2 separate regions of the Homo sapiens genome follow, and region 2 is linked to region 1. The links are contacts of gene promoters, found by promoter capture Hi-C in blood cells and fetal thymus (Javierre and others, 2016). All regions are on one chromosome and are shown on one strand. The core of a region is centred on a gene start or on the middle of the fragment in contact, and the rest is flanking DNA. Distances in the headings are between cores, read along the strand shown. Region 1 holds the start of LYAR (Ly1 antibody reactive). Region 2 overlaps CRMP1 (collapsin response mediator protein 1).

The links. The method cuts DNA at HindIII sites, captures the fragments that hold promoters and counts their contacts. A CHiCAGO score of 5 or more calls a contact.
Region 2: a contact is called between a fragment that was not itself captured here and the fragment with the promoter of LYAR in region 1, in 1 of 17 cell types (naive B cells). The highest score is 5.2, in naive B cells.

What each region holds. Positions count from the first base shown.
Region 1 is chr4:4,287,757-4,294,236 of GRCh38, forward strand. It overlaps LYAR (Ly1 antibody reactive), which reads right to left and starts at 2,398. Exons shown (of 10, transcript NM_017816.3): 1 at 2,280-2,398. It overlaps ZBTB49 (zinc finger and BTB domain containing 49), which reads left to right and starts at 2,495. Exons shown (of 8, transcript NM_145291.4): 1 at 2,495-2,596. RefSeq lists enhancers at 347-885, 886-1,423. The HindIII fragment of the contact is 4,525 bases long and covers 441-4,965 here.
Region 2 is chr4:5,820,398-5,826,877 of GRCh38, forward strand. It overlaps CRMP1 (collapsin response mediator protein 1), which reads right to left. Exons shown (of 14, transcript NM_001014809.3): 13 at 5,097-5,262; 14 at 367-1,454. The coding sequence ends at 1,363. It also overlaps a transcript of EVC not described here. Among named protein-coding and RNA genes, the nearest start is that of CRMP1, 69 kb to the right of the region's middle. The HindIII fragment of the contact is 5,333 bases long and covers 420-5,752 here.

The sequences.
Region 1 (6,480 bases), core at 1,148-3,647:
CTGGGACCTTGAGGTCCTCATCCAAAGAGAAAAAAAATTAAGGTCTCTATAAGATGACTTTCCATGTATAAATATTAGAACCCTAAGTCTTAATTATAAAACCTCTGTGCAGTGGGCAAGGAGACCACCCATGTCACAGGAGAGGCTGTCAGGGTCTGGACAGCAAAGCTAGCTGAGGGGCAGCAGCCAGTGGTCACTAAGGGGCTGGGAACTTGTTAGTCTTCTCTTAACAAGATGGTTGCCAGCTTTTGTTGGACAGGGCCCTGACTCAGGTGTAGAGGATCTGAGCTGGAGCCTACATCTGCTAATGTCAAAAAAGTCATTAAAAACTAAATGACCTCAAAGCACCTTAACTTCCCAGAATCTGTTTATCTGTAAAATGGATCTAATACCTAACTCAAAGCATTGGGTGGAAAGTTAAATAAGACACCAGATATGAAAGCTTCATCCCTGCCCAATTGTAGAAAGGTTTCTCTGTGACCTACTAATTTGCACATCAATGCTATTATACCCAGCCCCCTCCTAAACCCATGCTCCTTTAAATATGACCATCAACCCACCCATTTATGTTCATAAATTCACTCCAACCTTCTCTGGCTCCTCACCCCATGGCTGCCTACTTTACCAAGTTCCCTGATAACATGCCCTTAGGTTTGGTTCTGAGATTGGAATGATTTTTTTTAAATCTTCTTCCCTCTATATTTTTGTATTACTTATTCAATTTTTTTTCTTTTTTTTTTTTTTTTTGAGACGGAGTCTCATTCTGTTGCCCAGGCTGGAGTACAATGGCGCAATCTCGGCTCACTGCAGCCTTTGCCTCCCAGGTTCAAGTGATTCTCCGGCCTCAGCCTCCCCAGTAGCTGGGATTACAGGCACATGCCACCATGCCCGGCTAATTTTTGTATTTTTAGTAGAGACGGAGTTTCACCATGTTGGCCAGGCTGGTTGTGAACTCTTGACCTCAGGTGATCCACCCTCCTCGGCCTCCCAAAGTGCTCGGATGACAGGCACGGGCCACTGCGCTTGGCCTTGACTATTCTTAAAATATTCTTGCATGCACATGCAGACACTGACCTACACATCATTACCACCACTACCACTCAAACAGCCCACCTGAGGGGCCTAGCTGGCAACCCCAGGATATCCCCCACTGAACACTGTGACCCTGAGCATGCCACTGCCTCTATAAACTTCAAGTTATCTCATCTGTGAAACAAGAAGTCAGGCCAACTTGACAAGACTCAAGCCCCTTCCACGGGTAGCATTCTGAGAAACCATGGGTATGGTGCAAGAGAAGGACAGACAAACATACTCTGTCCACCATCCTGCCTAAACCTTTGTGTATGAGGCTGACAAGGGTTACAATGGGTGACATTCACAAGGAGAGAATCTCTCCCTTGTTCCTTGCAAAAGCCCTGGGAAGTAGGTGCACCTATCTCCACTAAACAGATGAGCAAACTGAGGCACAGAAGCCATTTCTCTCTGCCTCCTACCCCACCCACGGCATCACCAGCACTGTTTTAAACACCATCCCTTCACTCGAGTAACTACCATGTGTCAGGCACTATGCTAGACCCTGGGAGCCTCGGGCACAGTGTGAGTAAGTCCCAAGTGGGCCCTCTCTGCTAGAAATCAGGGTTGCAAATACAGACCCCACCTCATCCTCCTCCCTCTCTCCTCAGAGGTAGGTGCTTCAGAGAATCCTAACATTCATGGAGCACCCAAGCCCTCTCATAGGAGGTTAACACATTTCTACTCATGTAATCCTCATCACAGTTCTCCGAGTTAGATTCTATATGTTATGACAGATGAGGAAAGTGAGGCGCAAAGAGGTTAAAAAACTTACACCAGGTCATCCCACATCCAGGTAGTGGCAACCCAGATTCACACGCAGTAGTTATTCTGATCCTAAGTATGTGCTCTGGACCGCTACATCCTAAGGCCTCCTCTTTAGGGACTGATCTCCCAAGGCTCAGAGAAGAGCCCTGTCTCCAACATGCAGCAAGCCTGAAGCCCAGTCGGGCGGTGACCAATCGTCCTGGTTTGGCCAGGCCCGAGGGAGTTCCCAGGACGCCGGACCTTAAGTTTTAAAACTAAAACGAGTTGGTCACCCTAAGTCCAGGACTCCTGCCACTTCCCCAGAGCAGGAGTGAGATCTGAATGGAACTCCTTCCTCCATGCGTAACCCAGAGGGGCTGACGGTGGAAATCCCGTCCCTCCCCTACTCACTCTCTGAGCCCCAGCCTCCCAGGTCGGACCTCTGGGCCACCACCCCTCACCTCTCAGCCAGCGCCCGCCAACGGTTTCAACCGGCCGCGGGGAGCACGTGGACTCGCCGCCGCCAGCCCAGCGCCGCAGCTACCTGCCTCTCAGGCTTCGCGGTGCAGAATTCGCTTCTGAACCACCCAGCGCGCCTGCGCACCGCGGCCACGCCCCCCCCAGTGGAAGTGACGCCAACGGAAGCAGGAAGGCGGTTCCGGCAAGCCAAGGGGGCGTTGTCGTGATGATTCCGCGGCCAGCGGATCGCTGCGAGTGGCCTTGAAGGCAGCTGCTGCAGGTGAAGAGTAGGCGGCGGGGCAGAGAGCGGCCTCCGAGGGTAAGGTGGCCGGCCTTGCGAAGGCGTGCGGGGCTGGCGCTGGTGGGAATGGCCCGGAAGGGAAGGGAGGCCGGGCGCCCGAAGGTGGCCCAGAAGGGCATGGACCCACCGCTCCTTCCCGTCTCTGGGCACTCGAGGATACCCGGGGGGTTGGCGGCTCCTGCGAGAGTCAGCGAGCATTTGCTCTGTGCCGGGCATCACAGGGGACGCGGACTGAGACCCAGACGGCCAGGTTCCGGGCCTGGGAGCCGGGCCTTCTCCCTGGTGCAGCTTCCTCGGCCTGGAAACCCCACCCGCGCCCTCTCATCTCCAGGCTTTGCCCGCTGGAAGCCAGCCCGGCCCGCCTCCGCTACGCGCTGCCCATCTCTCGGCTTCTGTTTCCTTCCACGCTGTAGTTGAGAGTAGCGCTTAAGACGACAGAGCCCACAGCCTAGCTCAGTTTCATTACGGTGTGGCCTCTTTGTGCCTCAGCCCCGCATCTGTAAAGCGAATGTCATAGCGGCACCTGCGTCCCTGGAACCTTGTCGTATTTCATGAGTTGGTGCATGTAAATCGCTTAGACTAGTGGCTGCCACTTAGTAAGTACTCAATAAACGTTAGCTCTTCTCAGCCCTTAAAACAGGGTCTGGCACACAGTGGTGGTCACTAGGTGTTTGTTGCTTAAATGAATGAATGAAAGTTGAGTGGAGGATGCACAGAGTATTGTGAGAAACCTTCACTCCCAAGGTGTGTGTATATGGGTGATAAGGTTTCACTCTGAAAGTGAGCAGTGTTGGGCCTGGAATAGAAGGTGTATTAGTTTGCTAGGACTGCAAACAAAATACTGGGTGGCTTAAACAACAGAAATTTATTATTTTCTCACAGTTCTGGAGGTTAGAAGTCCAAGATCAAGGTGTCTTCAGGTTTGGTTTCTTCTGAGACATTTCTCCTTGGCTTGCACGTGGCTGCTTTCTTGCTGTGTCCTCGCATGGTCTTTCCTCTGTGTTTTCACATCTCTGGCGTCTCTCTTTGCATCCAGATTTCCTCTTTATGAGAACGTCAGTCAGGTTGTATTAGGGCCCACCTTAATGGCCTCATTTTAACTTAATTACCTTCTTACAAGCCTGATCTCCAAATACAATCACATTCTGGAGTGCTGGGGGAACAGTTTAACCATAACAGAAGGAATTCACAGAAATGGACAAGGAGGGAAATACTTTCCAACAGAAGTGACAGAATGGCCAGGAGGCTTAAAAGCAGGGTGCTCAAGATGTTTTTTGTGTTCAGGGCACATATGTGTACTTCAGTCTTGTTTGTGCTCTCGTACTGTTTTTGGGTTTGGTTGTTGTTGTTTGTTTGTTTGTCCTCCTGAATACTCAAAGAAAGTGAGCCCTCTCATTTTTTTAGTCTGGCAAACTTAACTCACATTTCAGCATAGATGTGTCTTCCAGGAAGTTTTCCCTGACCCTCCCTCCCAAATTAATTTCTGCTTCCTCCATTTAATAACTTTGGTACAGGGCTGGGTGCGGTGGCTCACGCCTGTAATCCCAGCGCTTTGGGAGGCCGAGGCAGGCAGCTCCTGAGGTCAAGAGATAGAGACCAGCCTGGCCAACATGGTGAAACCCTGTAAACCCCATCTCTACTAAGAGTACCAAAATTAGGCGGGTGTGGTGGCGCATGCCTGTAATCCCAGCACTTTGGGAGGCTGAGGCGAGTGGATCATTTGAGGTCAGGAGTTTGACACCAGCCTGGCCAACATGGTGAGACCCCCACCCCTCGTCCTTACTAAAAATACAAAAATTAGCTGGGTGTGGTGGTGCATGCCTGTAATCCCAGCTACTCGGGAGGCTGAGGCAGAAGAATCGCTTGAACCCAGGAGGTGGAGGTTGCACTGAGCCGAAAGCACACCACTCCACTCCAGCCTGGTCAACTGAGCAAGACTGCGTCTCGGAAAAAAATAAAAAATAACTCTGGTACAGTGCAACGATACTTGTTTTTCCCACTAGACTGATGCTTCATGAAGACATGGATGACCGTATCTGATGTGTTTGCCATCGTACCTTCAGTGCCTAGCGCATAATGGGCATTGTGTAAAGTTAAGTGAATGATGGAAAACTGAGACACAGAGCCTGTGAAGAGTAGGGAACACATCTGTTCCGTTTGTCAGCATTCCATCCTCGCGACAATCTGTTGCACATGTTAGGCACACAGTATCTGTTTAACCCAATTGGCCTTCCCAGTATGATAAGAGTCAGCATAAAGCTAAGACAAGATTCCAGGTTTGTTGCTTCAAGCCAGTGCTTTTATGAGTAGGGTGGAGGTGAGGAGCTACAAGTAAGCCATTTGGAAAGTATGATGATGGGCAGACTCCTTAGGAGCCCTCTGAGGTAAGCTTGACTTTAAGGTGCGTGAACTGTGGGCCCTTGGAGAAGTAATCTATTAATGGCACTGCTGAAAAAACATCCACAAATTCTATCCAGTAGTATTTGACCTGTTGGTAGAATTGAGGGGCCTTTGCTCTAGGAGTCCTCTCTGCAGGTTGAAATTCCATTCTGGCTGTTGTTTTCTTTAGAAGCATTTCTTCATTCACATTGATCTAAACTTTTTCTTGTTTCTTTTCCCCCCATATTTTCATTTTTTGACGCCATTCATACCATCTTTCCACCATCACATTCCTTGTATAGATTTGTAGCTTTTAGAACTAGGAAAAAACCTCTAAAAGAGATCATCTAGTCCAATAGGGGACCTCTCCATTTTTATAGATGAAAAACTGAGGCCCAGAGTCTCATCCATCCAGAAATATGTATTGAGTGCCTATTATGTCAAAGACACTCTGCTAGGCACCAGAGATACATTGTTCAATAAGACAGATGGAGTCCATGTCTTCACCACAGAAAATTTTTACTGCTTGTCACTAGGTGAGTTAGTCGCAAAGATGGAAGAGAACCTTCTGCTCCTTCTCTCACGCTATAACACCTTGTGTAGCACATCTTAGTCCTGAATTGTGCAGTTCCTTAATGCAAAGCTTGTCTGTGGGATTACCTGGACAATCAGGCATAGGCAGTAGACTGAAGAGGCAGCTGATTCCGATCAAAGGAAACAGTGGTTATGAATGCGGCTTTGGTGTCAGATTCCCTGGCTCTGAATCCCACCTCTGTCCCTTATTACTTACCTATTTTTAGCTGTGTGACCATCTTCTCTGTATATGGTCAGGTTTTCTGTTGCTGTGTAACACTCTACCCCCAAATTTAGTGACTCAAAAACTATTTTATCTCATAATTCTGCAGGTTAGGTATTCAGGCAGGTGTCAGCTGAGAAATTCTTCAATTCTATGTGGTGTCAACTGGGATCACTCAGTGGCATTCAGTTGGAGGAGGGGCCAGCCTGGAGAGGTCAGGATGGCTTTCCTGGGAGCCAGCTGAACCCTTCTCTGTCTCCATGTGTTCTCTCTAGCTGGGCATCTTACAGGTGGCTCAGGCCTTCCATAGCCACTGTTCTGAAAGATGGGAAGTGGAAGCTGTTAGCTCTTTAAAGGCCTGGGCCTGGGAAATGAGCACAGCTTTGTAGCACAGAATCTGATTAAGGCAGAGCCTGTGCAGGAGGGAAGGAGACCTAGACTCCACTACCCCATGGGAGAATCATCGGAGAATTTGTGGCCATCTTAAATCTGACAAATTCCTCATTGTCCTCACCTGTAAAATGTGGATAATAGTAGCACCTATCTTATGGTAAATGAGTTAATAAGTGTAAAGGGCTTAGAATAGTGCCTGGCATCTAGGAAACATAAGTATTTGTCATAATCATTACTATTATTAGGTATAAGATACATTTTTGTTTATAATTGACAGAACACATAAGAAATGTAAGATACAATTTTTTTTCCAGACCTTTTTATAACCTCATTG
Region 2 (6,480 bases), core at 1,836-4,335, 1.5 Mb after region 1:
TTAGTGTATCTCTAGCTCATGGAAATGGAAGGAAGAAATGTGAAGTTTAGGAGATTGGAGCTTCCAGTCTGAGGCTGATCCATACAATACAAGAAGAAAGAGAGCCAGGAAAGGCCCAACAGGAGGGAATCAATGCAAGATTTGAGCCTATTTTGTGGAAGCCCGCCCATCAGCCGTCTTCCCTCTCTTCGCCTCCTTGGGTCTCAGGAACTCAGCCTTCAGAAGTCATGAACTGAATCTCTCCTCCCACCCCCACATCCACCAGTCTCTACCAAGAGTGAGTCCTCAGGAAGCAGCCACCACCATTCGTTATCACGCGGGGGGACTGCCAAGCATTCGTACCCAATCCAGACACCACCACTGAAATGAAAGTGCCCTAGTCAGGTCAGTGGGCAGTTCATTTTCTTTATTTTTTCACAAGCTTTGAATTCAGAAATAAGAGCCACAACAAGTTGGTTGTTAAGTAAAAATGGGAGTGATTACAAAGGAAAACTTTGTACAAAACTTTAAAAATCTGACTGCCCCGTCAACTGCCTCAGAGGGACCAGGACTCAGGCCACGCAGGGGCAGCCATCAGCCCCCCATCGTCAGCCCCGAATGGGGATGGGGAGACCTCTTTCTGAGTGTGAACCTGGCTCGGCCTGAAGCCTAGAGCTGGCTTGAAGAACACACACAGACCAGAAGACAGCACGGTGAGTTACAAGTGCCACGGAGACCAGGGTTTCTGACACAGGATGTGGAGGATGCTTCTCTGCAACCTAGTGCAAGGCTTCCCCTGCCATTCCGAGAATTCACGGATCTCACAGGTGGAGGTGGGGCGAGCTTCTTTCTAGTGTGGACCAGAGGTGGGGGCAATGAGTAAACATCTTCACTGTAAGGGTTTTGGGACTGCCCCTCAGGGCTTGAGGTCTCGGCATCGTGTCTCAGTCAGTCCTTGGCGATGTCCCCTCAGACGCACTCACAGACTTGCATACGTAATTTAGTAACATGCATCAACTATCCTAGAACATCTACAGGGTGCAAAGGAACCACCACTCAGAGAATCATGGAGCCAGTGGAGTTAGAAGTGGAAGGGACAGAACAAGACAATGCTAAAACCTGTGGTTCACTAGGAAGGGGGAATGAAAACACCATGCTCCGAGGTGGATTCAGCATGAACACAACTGTGGGGCAAGGAATTTCCAAGCAAACACACCACACTAGTACCACTTCTTCCTAAACAGAAAAGGGAAAGAGCATCCTTCGACTTCCCCCTCCCTCCATCAGCACCAACTAAAACTGTGGGTTTCAAAAACACTGACAGGAAAAGGGATGGACATGATTCCCAGAATCCTTCAGGCTAGCTCCTCCGCGCATCCACGTTCAACCGAGGCTGGTGATGTTGGAGCGGCCACCAGGGGGCGCCACGATGCGGTGGCCGGTGCGCCTGGGATTGTTGTCATCTATCTGGGCACCTGAAAGAGAGCGCCAATCGCTGCTGGATGGGATCTGTTAGCATCAGTTCCACGCTGCTCCTGGAGGCCATGTACTCTGCCATGCACTCCACTGGACCCACCTTCATTCAGGGCTCAGTCCAGGACCAGCCATGGGAAGCCTCCCTGGCCTCCACAGAGTCCACTGCTCCCTCTTCTGTGCCCCTCAGTCCCTGGGCTCCCCCCACCTTCAGCCCTGACCACCTTGTGGTGTTCTTGTCAAAATCCCCAGTAAAATCCGACATTCCTGAGACAGGTGATCAAACACTTACTGAGTGCCTACTGTGTGCAGGCGCACATTTGGTGCTTTAACATGTTACTGCATTTAGGGCACACAATCATACTATGAAGGGGGTGTTTGTACTCCCAACTTACGGGTGAGCAATTTGAGGTTCAGGCCACGTGTCTTGCGGGACACAGGTGTTGGGTGGGGAAGCCAGGATTGAAGCCCAAACTGGTTGGTTTTCAAAGCCCATGATCTTAGGCACACTGTCCCACACTCCAAAGGTATTTTACATATTGTGTGTGTACACATTTGTATATGCATGTGCATATGTGTGTGCATGTGCATGTGAACTCCGCAAGCTGGATTTACTTCCCTCATTGGCGATAGGTGGATCTGAAGGGGGGGGGGGTGGTGTGCAGAGGTTCTTAATTTTAATCTTTCAAAACCAACCATCCATTCTACTTTTACCTATTCTCTTGCATAAAGATGTAAAATTCTAGCAGCAAACCCAGTGCCTGGAGCTCAACAAATATTTATTAAATGAGTAAATCATGAAGGGTGGATAATGCTGAAAGGTGGGAAGGATAGAGTCCTTATCAGGGAGGGGAAGTTGAGCCGGCGGAACTGAGGAAAATCAAAAAGAGAAAGCAAATAAGCTGTAAGTCTGCCTTTCTTCATGGTCTACAACACAGCCTTCCTGTACTCAACTTATCACCAGATCCTCAGCTAACAGAAAAACGTAAGTAAGTTAGCTCACTGCAACCACAGCATTATCAGTACTGCACAAAGCCCTCTTCGGCACACAGCACAAGCACCATCCTATAAAATCTCCAGCAAGCCTTTGTTTCCTTGCAGTCGGCTCCTTTCTTGCTGACCTACCCACTGTACCCTTTCATACTTTTTCTAATACATCTGACTTTCTTTACCGACAACTGTCTTGGTGAATTTTTTTTACTAGCTGCAGAACACTGGCCCCAGGTAGTTGTCACCTGCAACAGGAAGGAGACTCAAGTTTCAGTGCTAATCATGCCTTGAATTTGGGCAATTTGGAGTAAGACACCACCCCACTCCCTTGGCCTCATTTCCTTTTCTGCACAATAAGAACAGTAGACTAGATGAGCCCCTTCCAACTCCAACATTACATGATTTGTCTATGTAAGCCACTAAGAATTTGGTTCACAGTAGTGACTTTTCTTTTCTCCCATTGTTTCACTGGTAGACAATATGTCTTCTTGCAATACAAGTCTCCCCTAAAGGCCTGGAATCAGGCCTAGCACTTAGTAACTTTTTCCTTACAACCATCTGTACCTTGCTGGTTGCATGTCTGTACTTTGAAAATACCTGCTGGAAAAAAGGACACTAATATGGTTTGGACTTTTGTCCCCCAAAACTTCGTGTTGAAATTTGATCCCAAAGTTGGAGGTGGGGCCTAATGGGAGGGGTTTGGGTCATGAAGGACAGACCACTCATGAATGGCTTGGTGTCAGCCTTACAGTAATGAGTAAATTCTTGCTCTATTAGCTCTCGGAAGAACTGGTTGTTAAAGAGCACCTCTGCCTTCTTCCTCTGTTGCCATGTGATCTCTGCACACGCTAGCTCTCCTTCGCCTTCTGCCATGCTGGAAGTAGCCTGAGGCCCTCACCAGAAGCAGACGCTGGCACCGTGCTGCTTGTACAGCCTGCAGAGCCGTGAGCCAAGTAAACCTCTTTAATTACCCAGCCTCAGGTAATCCTTTATAGCAATGTAAATGGACGAAAACAGACACTAACTCATGGTACAGCTCTATAACGTAACATACGCAGATATTAAAAAGGGCATCTGTGAGGTTGTTATGATGTTGGAAAGCATCTGTGTTGTTGGTACCAAATGAAGTCACCTATCAACCTGCCAAGAGGCTGGCTGACAGCAGTGGTGCTGTGGGCCTCAGGAGGACTAAGAGTGAAACTGAGAGAACAAGGGTGAGGAGGGGCCCTTCCAGGTGGCTTTTAACTTCATTGTTATTCTTGTTCTAAGAACAACGGGGAGGAGGATTTTCTGTCCATGTTTAATTGCAATTGTGCAGTGTTTAATTGCATAACTCCAGAACAGTGGTCCAGTTTGCAAACTCCTTGAGAGCTTGTGTCTTGTTGCACCCAGATAGCTTTTTCCCAGGATGAAGCCAATCCCTGGTTTGCTGATTGAGCATCACATGACTTTTAGCATTCTATTTAGGGTCCATTTTGTGCAAAAATATGAAACACTGGAAGCTCTTCCATCAAAGTCTTATGGAGAGTGAGATGAATGGGGAGGCCTCCTTGATTCATGCCTCCTCGGCATAATCACTGAATCAGACACTTCCTGAATGGATAAGAGGTTCTGCCACCACACAATCTGAATTCACACGTCATCCTCTCTCTCTCTCTCTCTTTGCCCCTTCCACTCTCTCTTTTGCTAAGCATATCGCCTTTCCTGACCAGGAATTAGCAAACGGGTCCATTGACCAAATCCGGCCCACCGCCTGTTTCTGTACGATCCATGACCTGAGAATAGTTTGTACATTTTCAAATGGCTATTGAATATAACATCCTAGATGTTGACATCCTAGATGTTGCCTCTTAGCTTACAAAGCCTAAAGTATTTACTATCCGGCCTTCTAAGAAAAAAAATCACCATACTCTTAGTACCCAGCACGGTGTGCAACCCATGCAACGCCTCAAAGAGTTTGCAGGACAAAATTCCAGTTCAACTTTCTCAACGTGTGCGTGCCTGCCCTCATGTGGCCATCTCACCAAATCACAGATACACTGCCCTGAGACCTTAAGAAAGTCAGGAGGGATCAGGTCAACATCTAATTTTGTTCCCACACATTTGTTGAGCACCAAGTCCTGGTATTTTGACACTGGATTTCTTGGGGCTTCCGTTTCCTCTTTAAATAAATAGGGTATAATGTTACTTTATGGAGTAGTGAGGATAAAATAAAATCATGGGTTATGAAAGTGCTTAGTACACTGCAGTGGGTGAACAGGCTAAAGACTTACACAGAGCACATGCCCTGCAAATGGCAGCTACTCCCATCTCTTGTTCATCCCCACCACTCCATGTTTACTTTCATGAGGAAGAGTGTGAAAGTGTCCCCAAATGTGTGTAAGGATGAGCACTGGGACAATTTTGGTACCTCTCTTTGTAAACCCACATCAGGTACCACCATGTTGCCCCCCTAACATGGACCCCCCTCTGCTTGGTGACCATGCCAGCCCACTCTGCCCCACCAGTGAGAGCAGGCTCGGGTGGGGCACACTCCCTTCCCTGCTTCTTCATCTAGTGTCCAAGGCCACGTGTCCATTTCCTCAGAAGCAGCAGGAAGGACTCGGCCTGAACTGCTGCAATTGTGGGGAGCCTGGGCCACCACTCTTTCCTACCTGATAAGCTGAAGTTGGACTGGTGGAGGTTTCTGATGGGTGGGGGCTGGTGTTTAGAAGGCGAAGATTTGGCTGAAGGAGCGGGAGTTGCATATTTGGGTGTAGCTGGTACCTCGTACACAGGACCGTCATACATGCCCCTGGAAACCCCTTGCAATCCAAAAACCTAAACAGAGGAAGGGAGAGTGTGATTGATCGACACTGTGCATGTGTGCCCTTCTGGGCAGATAAAGCAGAGCCCTGCGGGCGAGAGAGAAACCTGAGGTCACTTCAAATGTGCATGCACACACACACACAACACGCACACACGACAGGTGCACTTCACACACATGCAGCCGCACACAGGCATTCATACACACAAGCATGCATACACACACATCTACATACCCACATGCATACACATACAGACGCACACACCACGCACACGCACTCACATACATGCAGTCATGCACACATATATGCATGCACATGCAGTAACAAAACAGGCCTACACAGTAGCATACACGCGTGAACACGCACACACACTTAAATCACATACAGATCTTCACAAAGGCATACTCACATATGTATACACATGCATACATGCCCACACACACACTCATACAGGTATACACACCCATATATACACTTACACACACGCATACTCATACACACAAAGCTTCATGCAGGAGGACCCCAAATCCCTTCCAAAGAGAAGTCACTTTGCCTGACACTACCACCTACCCACCCCCGGAAAGGACCCCTGAGTCCCAGACAAGGCAGCAGCAACGGGCCCATCTTCATGTATGTTCTTGTAGAAGTCAACAGCGAGGCAAAGATTCGGGGGGCAGATAGTTTGTTGGGAGATGGTTCCAGAAAGGGGGAAGGAGTGGGGAGCTGAGACAGGGAGGGAGAAAACTCAGTACAGAGGGACAAGGAGTGGGCCAGGTCTATGGGGGGCAGGGCTGGGGATGCTGTGGGGAGGACACCTCCACACCAGCCTGCAGGAGGACGAGGAAGGAGGGCAATGGAGCCACAGCCCTAGCCCCACTGGGAAAGGGTTGTGGGGGCAGAGACCCTGAAAGCAGCAGGGCTTCCAGGCAGGAGGCTGTCAGCCTGCTGGGAACTGCTGACAGCAGCCCAGGTGACCTCAGGGATGGCCAAGGTTGGGAGGGCACCTGCTCCAGGCACTGGAGAACAGCATGTGTTCAGGGACCTGTACAGGGTCCCAGCATGAGTCAGTGGCAGTGCCCTAACCCAACACGGGGCTTCATCCTCCATATCAGGTGACAGTGCCCTGACCCCAGGCCTGGCTCCCTCCTTCTCTGCAGGTGATAGCACCCTGACCCCCAGCTCTGGGCTCCTGTCTCTCCATAGGAGGAAGCCTTAATTTTAGCACCAAGTT